Regions from separate parts of the Homo sapiens genome. Here all the other regions are linked to region 1. Evidence: promoter capture Hi-C in 16 types of primary human blood cells and fetal thymus (Javierre and others, 2016). All regions are on one chromosome and are shown on one strand. Each heading gives the region's core, a stretch centred on a gene start or on the middle of the fragment in contact. The rest is flanking DNA. Distances are from core to core; before and after follow the strand shown. Region 1 holds the start of OR6C65 (olfactory receptor family 6 subfamily C member 65). Region 2 has its middle 24 kb from the start of OR10P1. Region 3 has its middle 26 kb from the start of OR10A7.

Region 1 (2,567 bases), core at 29-2,528:
ACCCTTCCTAATATCTCACACTTTGACTCTGTTCATTAAATCAGATTACTCTCATGGGTCACTCAAAATTTGTCAAGATGGTTTCTCTGTTTCTAGTACTGGTAGCAACAGATCATGCTGAGCAATTCATATTCGGGATGTTGATTATGTACTTCACTAAAATTCCTGTTTTGTTGGCATAGACCACTACAGGTACCTGTATCAATCAAAATGGACTAATTCAGAATAATTGATGCATGCATGCAGAGTTTGGCCCATAGAACTAAAACAAACACTGGATTGATTGACTATATTTAAAAAGTCCGATTGGAACTTTTATACTGTGATCTTGTTCATTAATAAAGGTCGGCATTGTGTTTATGTCAACTTCAATCAGAAAGGAGCTAAGAGGATCAGTTTTGCCTACAGCAAGAGGAGATGGAGTTCAATTAATTTCCCATAAATATAGTATTTTCTGTGTTTTTGTTTGTTTTTGCTATGAAAAGAAATCAAGGCTCATTTTTAAAATTGAAATAACTCAAAATCTTTTCTTTTCTTTTTTTTTTTTTGTTTTTCTGTTTTTCGTTTTTTTGAGATGGAGTCTTGCTCTATTGCCCAGGCTGGAGTGCAATGGTGTGATCTGGGCTCACTGTAAGCTCCGCCTCCTGAGTTCACACCATTCTCCTGCCTCAGCCTCCGGAGTAGCTGGGATTACAGGCACACACCACCACGCCCGGCTAATTTTTCTTTTTTAGTAGAGACGGAGTTTCACTATGTTGGTCAGGCTGGTCTCGAACTCCTGACCTCGTGATCCGCCCACCTCGGCCCCCTAAAGTGCTGGGATTACAGGCGTGAGCCACCGTGCCCGGCCGAAAGTCTGTTTTCTAATGACAATATTAGCATTTGTATTTTATGGCCTTTAAGTTTTCAAAATTACTATGTATTCTGATAACTTGTTCAATATTCCACCAACAGAACAAAGCAAGCAAAATATTTATTATTATTTAACTATAAAAAACCTTTCTGTACATTAAGTAATCAAAACTATACAGCAGAGAATTATCAAAGATAAAACTTAAATGTTTTTTAAAGTAATGAAACACAAATTAATCTTTTCACTACTAAATAAATTCTGTCATGAACTTGCAATTCTAATGGATATTCTGCCACTTCTTGTTGAATGGGTCTTAAAGTTCTTGATGCAGAATAAGAGCAATCCTAGTGTATTTGAAATCAAATCACGTATTGACATTCACTCTTCTTTTTATCTACAGACCTATCAGAATTCAGAACTAAGCCATGCCAAATATGACATCAATTAGAGAATTCATTCTTCTGGGATTTACAGATAACCCAGAGTTACAAGTTGTGATATTCTTCTTTATGTTGATCACATACTTATTGAGTGTAAGTGGAAACATGATCATCATTATGTTAACATTGTCAAATATTCATTTGAAAACTCCTATGTATTTCTTCCTCAGGAATTTCTCTTTCTTAGAAATTTCATTTACGACAGTCTTCATTCCTAGATTTCTGATCAACATTGCTACAGGAGACACAACCATTTCCTATAATGCTTCCATGGCCCAAGTATTTTTTTTAATTCTTTTGGGATCAACAGAATTTTTTCTTCTGGCTGTCATGTCTTATGATCGCTATGTGGCTATCTGCAAACCTCTACATTATACAACCATCATGAGTAACAAAGTCTGTAATTGGCTTGTAATCAGCTCCTGGCTGGCTGGTTTTCTCATTATTTTTCCCCCCGTGATTATGGGCCTCCAACTGGATTTTTGTGACTCCAGCACTATTGACCATTTCATCTGTGATTCTTCCCCTATGCTGCTGATTGCTTGCACAGACACACAGTTTCTAGAGCTTATGGCATTTTTGCTAGCAGTATTCACACTCATGGTAACTTTGGCCTTGGTGGTTCTCTCCTACACACTCATCCTTAAAACAATTCTGAAGATTCCCTCTGCCCAGCAAAGGAAAAAGGCTTTTTCAACTTGTTCCTCCCATATGATTGTGGTTTCTGTTTCTTATGGGAGTTGCATTTTTATGTGTGTAAAAACATCTGCAAAAGAAGGTATGGCTTTGAGCAAAGGTGTAGCAGTGCTTAATACCTCTGTTGCTCCTATGTTGAATCCCTTTATTTATACCTTAAGAAACCAGCAGGTGAAACAGGCCCTTAGGGAATTCACCAAAAAAATATTATCATTGAACAAGCAATAATGATAACTAAATCTGTGGCTGAAACACAAATAAGCCAATAAAAACACAAAGCATCTTTCTACGTAATAGGTATACACAAAGGAACACACATGCAAAGATTCACACCATTGTAGAGCTTACTTCTAGTGATAAAACACACATATGGAACAATCAATATAATAGAAAATTACCTAGTACTTTAGTAAGGAACAAATGCTATTTAAAAAAAATAGAAGAAATATGGTATAGAAAGTAATATGGCAGGTAGAATTCAAATTAAATAGCTTGGTCAAAGATTTCATGGTCATCTTAAAGCTTCTTTTATTTTTTTTCTATATTCACACACGTTTTTCTGTATTCTTTATATATAT
Region 2 (2,567 bases), core at 25-2,524, 210 kb after region 1:
CTCATCCTCACCTGCTGGCTACTAGGTTTCTCCTTCATCATCATGCCTGTCATCCTGACCAGTCAGCTTCCATTCTGTGATACCCACATCAAGCATTTCTTCTGTGACTACACGCCTCTAATGGAGGTGGTCTGCAGTGGGCCAAAGGTGCTGGAGATGGTGGATTTTACCCTGGCCTTAGTAGCACTGTTTGGCACCTTGGTACTCATCACCCTGTCCTATGTCCAGATCATCCAGACAATTGTCAGAATCCCCGCTGTCCAGGAGAGGAAGAAGGCTTTCTCTACCTGTTCCTCTCATGTCATTATGGTTACCATGTGTTATGACAGCTGCTTCTTTATGTATGTCAAGCCCTCTCCAGGAAAGTGGGTTGATGTCAACAAGGGAGTGTCTCTAATCAATACAATTATTGCCCCACTGTTAAATCCCTTCATCTGTACTCTGAGGAACCAACAAGTTAAGCAGGTAATGAAAGACCTAGTCAGAAAAATGACTTTGTTCCAAAATAAATAAGGGCCCTAAAAGTCATCTTCTGGGGAAAAAATGGGTGCCTTCTCCAGAGTAAGTCCACATGACATCAGGCCAAGAGGCAGGAGTCAGGGGCTTAGGCCCCCATTGCACCCCCAGCAAGGTGCAGGTTTCCCCACAGGCCATAAGGAAAATGTCCTGATATCATATGAAGAGTCTTATTACCTAGCCTCAGTCTTAGGTTTGCACCTTCTTTTATCACTCTGTCAGCCAAAGAAATGAGAAATAGCTAGCCTATGTCCCCAGGTGCCCTCAACTAGACTCCAGTAACAGCTGACATTCGTCAGCATGCCAGTTTCATTTTTAACACCTATAATGTTTGTAGAACACTTCATAGTTTCAAAAGCATTTTCTCAACACTAACCTCACTCAATCTTCACAATAACCCTGCGAAACAGATGGAAAAATTATTATTTACATTTTACATAAGATGTTGATATACTCAAACAGTTTAAGTGTATTGCCAAAGATCACACAGGAGACCAGGGTTCAAACCCACAACTTCTGGATCTAAACGCAATACCACATTTCCTACAGATGTGAGACATCTGGATTTAATAGTCATCTTTTGCTGCACGCAAATTATCCCAAAATTTAGCAGCTTAAAACAGCAAGCATTGATTATCTTGGTTTCTATGGGTTAGTAATTTGGGTTCAGCTTAACTCAGAGCAGCTCAATAGGGCTGTTGTCTCATCTAAAGACTCTACTGGGGGTGGGGCATGGTGGTTCATGCCTATAATTCCAGCACTTTGGGAGGCTGAGGTGGGTGGATCACCTCAGATCAGGAGTTTGAGACCAGCCTGGCCAACATGGGAAAACCTCATCTCTACTAAAAATACAAAACTTAGCCAGTCATGGTGGCATACACATGTAGTCCCATCTACTCAGCAGGCTGAGGCAAGAGAATTGCTTGAAACTGGAAGGTGAAGGTTGCAGTGAGCCAAGATCATGCCACTGCATTCCAGCCTGGGTGACAGAGTGAGACTCCATCTCAAAAAAAAAAAAAGACTCAACTAGGGAAGGATTAACTTCTGAGCTGCTCACTCCAGTTGCTGTTAGCAGGCTCTAGTTCCTCAGTGATTGTTGCCATGTGGGCACTCTATAAGAAAGCTCATAACATGGCAGCTGGCCTTCTTTAGAGCAAACAAACGAAAGAATGGCCAAAACAAAAGTGTTTTATAACCTAATGTTAAAAGTGACATCACATCATTTTTATCATATGCTATTTGTTAGAAGTAAGTCACCTAGTCCAGCCCATATTCAAGAAGAGGTGAGCACACAAAGACATGAATATCAGAAGGCAGGGATGATTTGGGAAACATTACATGCAGCCTATTACAATCTACCCTCTGGCACAGTCCACCAATGATTCATGTCCCTCCCACATGCAATATATATTCCACCCTTCTCGAAGTCATCAAAGGTCTCATCTTGTTATAGTTTCCAATCAAAATCCACAATCTTATCATCTAAACCAGGTCCAGGTGTAGATGAAGCTCCTTGGGTGTAGTTCCATAGGTACATACAGCCCCTAACTACTTTTCTCAATCTGTGACCTGTGAAACTAAAAAAGACAAGTTAACATCCCCACACACACCCAACATACAATGATGGGGTAGGCATAGAATAACTATAACTATTGCCACTCAAAAACAGGAAAAGAAAAGGAATTACTGGTCCAGAAAAATTATGAAATCCAGCTGAAAATGATGGAAACTCCTTAACTCATTCAAAACTTGGGAGTAATTCATTATTCCTCTTGGGCCCTTGGTCCTGCCCTCTGAGTCATTTTTTCCTTTTTCATGAAAAGTAGCACACAATTGTAGCTGAATAGTTTTCTCAGCCTTCTTCCTCCCAGTAGAATTACAGTGACCCAAATGCCTCTTTCTTATTTTGTACTGTCTTCTTTTCAATCCAAGATGACAGAGTTTCTGGGGATATAACTCATTCGGGAACTTTATGGATCTCCAGTGTATCTTCTTGATGCTTGCTTCATTAGATAAAAACCACAGCTAAGGCCTGAAAGATCTTTAAAGGT
Region 3 (2,567 bases), core at 43-2,542, 210 kb before region 1:
ATAGACTATATTTGATACTAAAATAGTATTACTTCCTGTTTATTTCATTTTTTGTTTTATACTCATAAAGGATATTTCATTTTCCTCAGGAAAATGGCATGAAACATACTGGACTTAATGCTATTACCACTGGAGAAGGAGAAAATGGTAGCTTGACACATGAGATGCCCTGTAAATACTGTTGAATGAATGAATGATTAACAATTGAATGAATCTACTGTGTAGTTTCCTTTTACTTACAGACATTGAAAAATGTGTGACAAATCCAAATGTTTTTTGGTAGCTAGGCTATAAATGCTTTAATAAAAGAATATGTTGGTAGAAGAATCATAAAATCGGGTAACCTCTCTGTACAGTAGCATAGGTTTCAGCTACTATGACTGGTTTAGGCCGTTTGTCTAAGAGAGTTCCTTTGGGTTATCCTTTGAAAGGCTTCCTTTACTTCCTTGTTCCTCAAGGTATAGATAACAGGATTCAAAGCAGGTGTGACCATTGTGTACATGAGTGCAGTTGCTTTGTCTGTTTCTGGAGTGTGTGCAGTCTTAGGTTGCAGATAAGTGAACAAGGCAGTGCCATAGAACAGAGAAACAACCAAGATATGAGAAGAACAAGTGGAGAAAGCTTTGTGTCTTCCAGCTGCTGAAGGGATTCTCAAGATGGTCACAGGGATGTGCATGTGGGAGCACAGAATGAGGAAACAAGGACTCACAATAAATAGCACGGAGAGAGAAAACATCACAATTTCAATTTGGGAGGTATCAATACAAGCCAGTTTCAGTACAGGCATTATGTCACAAAAAAGTGTTGAATCTTTCCTGTTCCACAGAAAGGCAAAGTGAAGATCAGGGTGATCTGGGCTGACTCCACCACCACTCCAGTGAACCAAGATGCTGCAGCCAATTTCAAACAAACACGAGGGCCCATGAAGAGAGTGTAATGCAGTGGGTAACAAATAGCTACAAAGCGATCGTAAGCCATAGCTGCTAGCAAGCAGCATTCTGTCAGTCCCAAGATGGCAAATATGTACATCTGGGTTGCACAGCCACCCACACTTATGGTTTTGGTCTCCACCAGCAGGTGCACCAGCATGAGGCACCACACTGGTGGTATAGCACATCTCCAGAAATGAGAGGTTCACCAGGAAGAAATACATTGGAGTGTGCAGGGCAGGGGTGATCCAGATCAGGGAGATGATGATGATATTTCCTCCTATAGTGCATAAGTGATGATTAAGAACACAATGAAGAGTACAAGCTGTAATTCTTCTATAGAAGAAAAAGCCACAAATGTGAATTTGGCACACAGGGACTGATTTCCATCTATGGTGGGCTCAGAGCTAAACATCTGTGCAGACAACAAAGAAGGCAGGTTAATGGGAATGCAGTCACCTAACACATCTCTCTACTGAACCACAGCAAAGGAGCTTTCCTAGAATCAGTAGTCTGAGATGAGAATCTAGACACCTGGATTTCTTCTGTTAAATCTTTCTAAACTACACAATTACATCGAATACATATTTCTTCCTGATTTTAAGTTATGGATTATATGCAATTTTCACAAACATTTGGAAAAAACAATGGTTTTTAAGTTGCATATTCTGAATCTTTTGTTTTTGTCTTATCACTAATTATATACAGAAGCTATTATGCAAGCAATATATGAAGACTTATAATTTTAAAGGAGTCACATAAAAATTAATAGATTCAGATGTAAAGGTGTTATACTCTGGTCTTCCAAATTCTATAACCTTCCTTAAAGCTACACTTAAGGGCTTAAAAGGGAATATATTTCCAGCTGTTTATCTATGTATTTATGTACATATTTTACTTGATCTGAACAGAATAAGCAAATAATTACAAAGCTAAGATCCAAGAAAGCCAAAATCGACAGAATCTCCTTTCTACAACCTCAGTGTAAATTTGCAAGAAATTACAAATAGGAGAACATACCTAGAACCACAAGGTAAGCTTTCTTTTCCTTTTTGGGCTCCTAGACTTCCTATGGCTCTAAATTATAGCACAGTGATAGAATAGGCAGTATTTTTATTTCTACTAGAGACCATAGGGAATACATCCACTGTGCAGCTTAATTATATTTGTCTCAAGAGGAGTATATTAAAAACAATGAGTGTTTAATGTGCAAGTTGGTTTTCAGTTGTTAAAGACATTTCCAGAGATACCTATTGCTGTCAGTTATATCACCTGTTCCAATGCATAAAACTAAAAGTTGCTAATTGGAACCCATCATACAACTGAAATTATTATTAAACTCTATGGATGTTTGCCATAGTAATCCTTTTTAAGCTCCTCAAATGGACAGTGACTAATTAGGCCTTTGTAATATTGGTAGGCACAGTGCATGGAACATAGTAGCCTCCATAAACCCCCAAAATAGCATTCACTTTATTCATTATTTATTATTCAATTGCTAGCAGCATTAAAAAAATAGGCACGGGAAGAAAACCCCAAATTTCCAATGGAATTAATTAAAGTAATTGGTCAAAAACATTAAAAAATGTATTTTTCTTCTACTGTCTTCAAGAAATGAAAATATTTTTCATTCTGAAT

Evidence for each region. Contacts are between HindIII fragments. The CHiCAGO score rates a contact against its expected background, and 5 or more counts as called.
Region 2: a contact is called between a fragment that was not itself captured here and the fragment with the promoter of OR6C65 in region 1, in 1 of 17 cell types (erythroblasts). The highest score is 5.5, in erythroblasts.
Region 3: a fragment that was not itself captured here is called in contact with the fragment with the promoter of OR6C65 in region 1 in 1 of 17 cell types (M1 macrophages); the score reaches 5.2 in M1 macrophages.

What each region holds. Positions count from the first base shown.
Region 1 is chr12:55,399,251-55,401,817 of GRCh38, forward strand. OR6C65 (olfactory receptor family 6 subfamily C member 65) reads left to right here and starts at 1,279. Exons shown (of 1, transcript NM_001005518.1): 1 at 1,279-2,217. The coding sequence starts at 1,279. The coding sequence ends at 2,217. The HindIII fragment of the contact is 3,793 bases long and covers 1-2,509 here.
Region 2 is chr12:55,612,045-55,614,611 of GRCh38, forward strand. It overlaps the pseudogene OR6U2P. Among named protein-coding and RNA genes, the nearest start is that of OR10P1, 24 kb to the right of the region's middle. The HindIII fragment of the contact is 3,700 bases long and covers 1-2,567 here.
Region 3 is chr12:55,193,473-55,196,039 of GRCh38, forward strand. It overlaps the pseudogene OR10U1P. Among named protein-coding and RNA genes, the nearest start is that of OR10A7, 26 kb to the right of the region's middle. The HindIII fragment of the contact is 1,346 bases long and covers 620-1,965 here.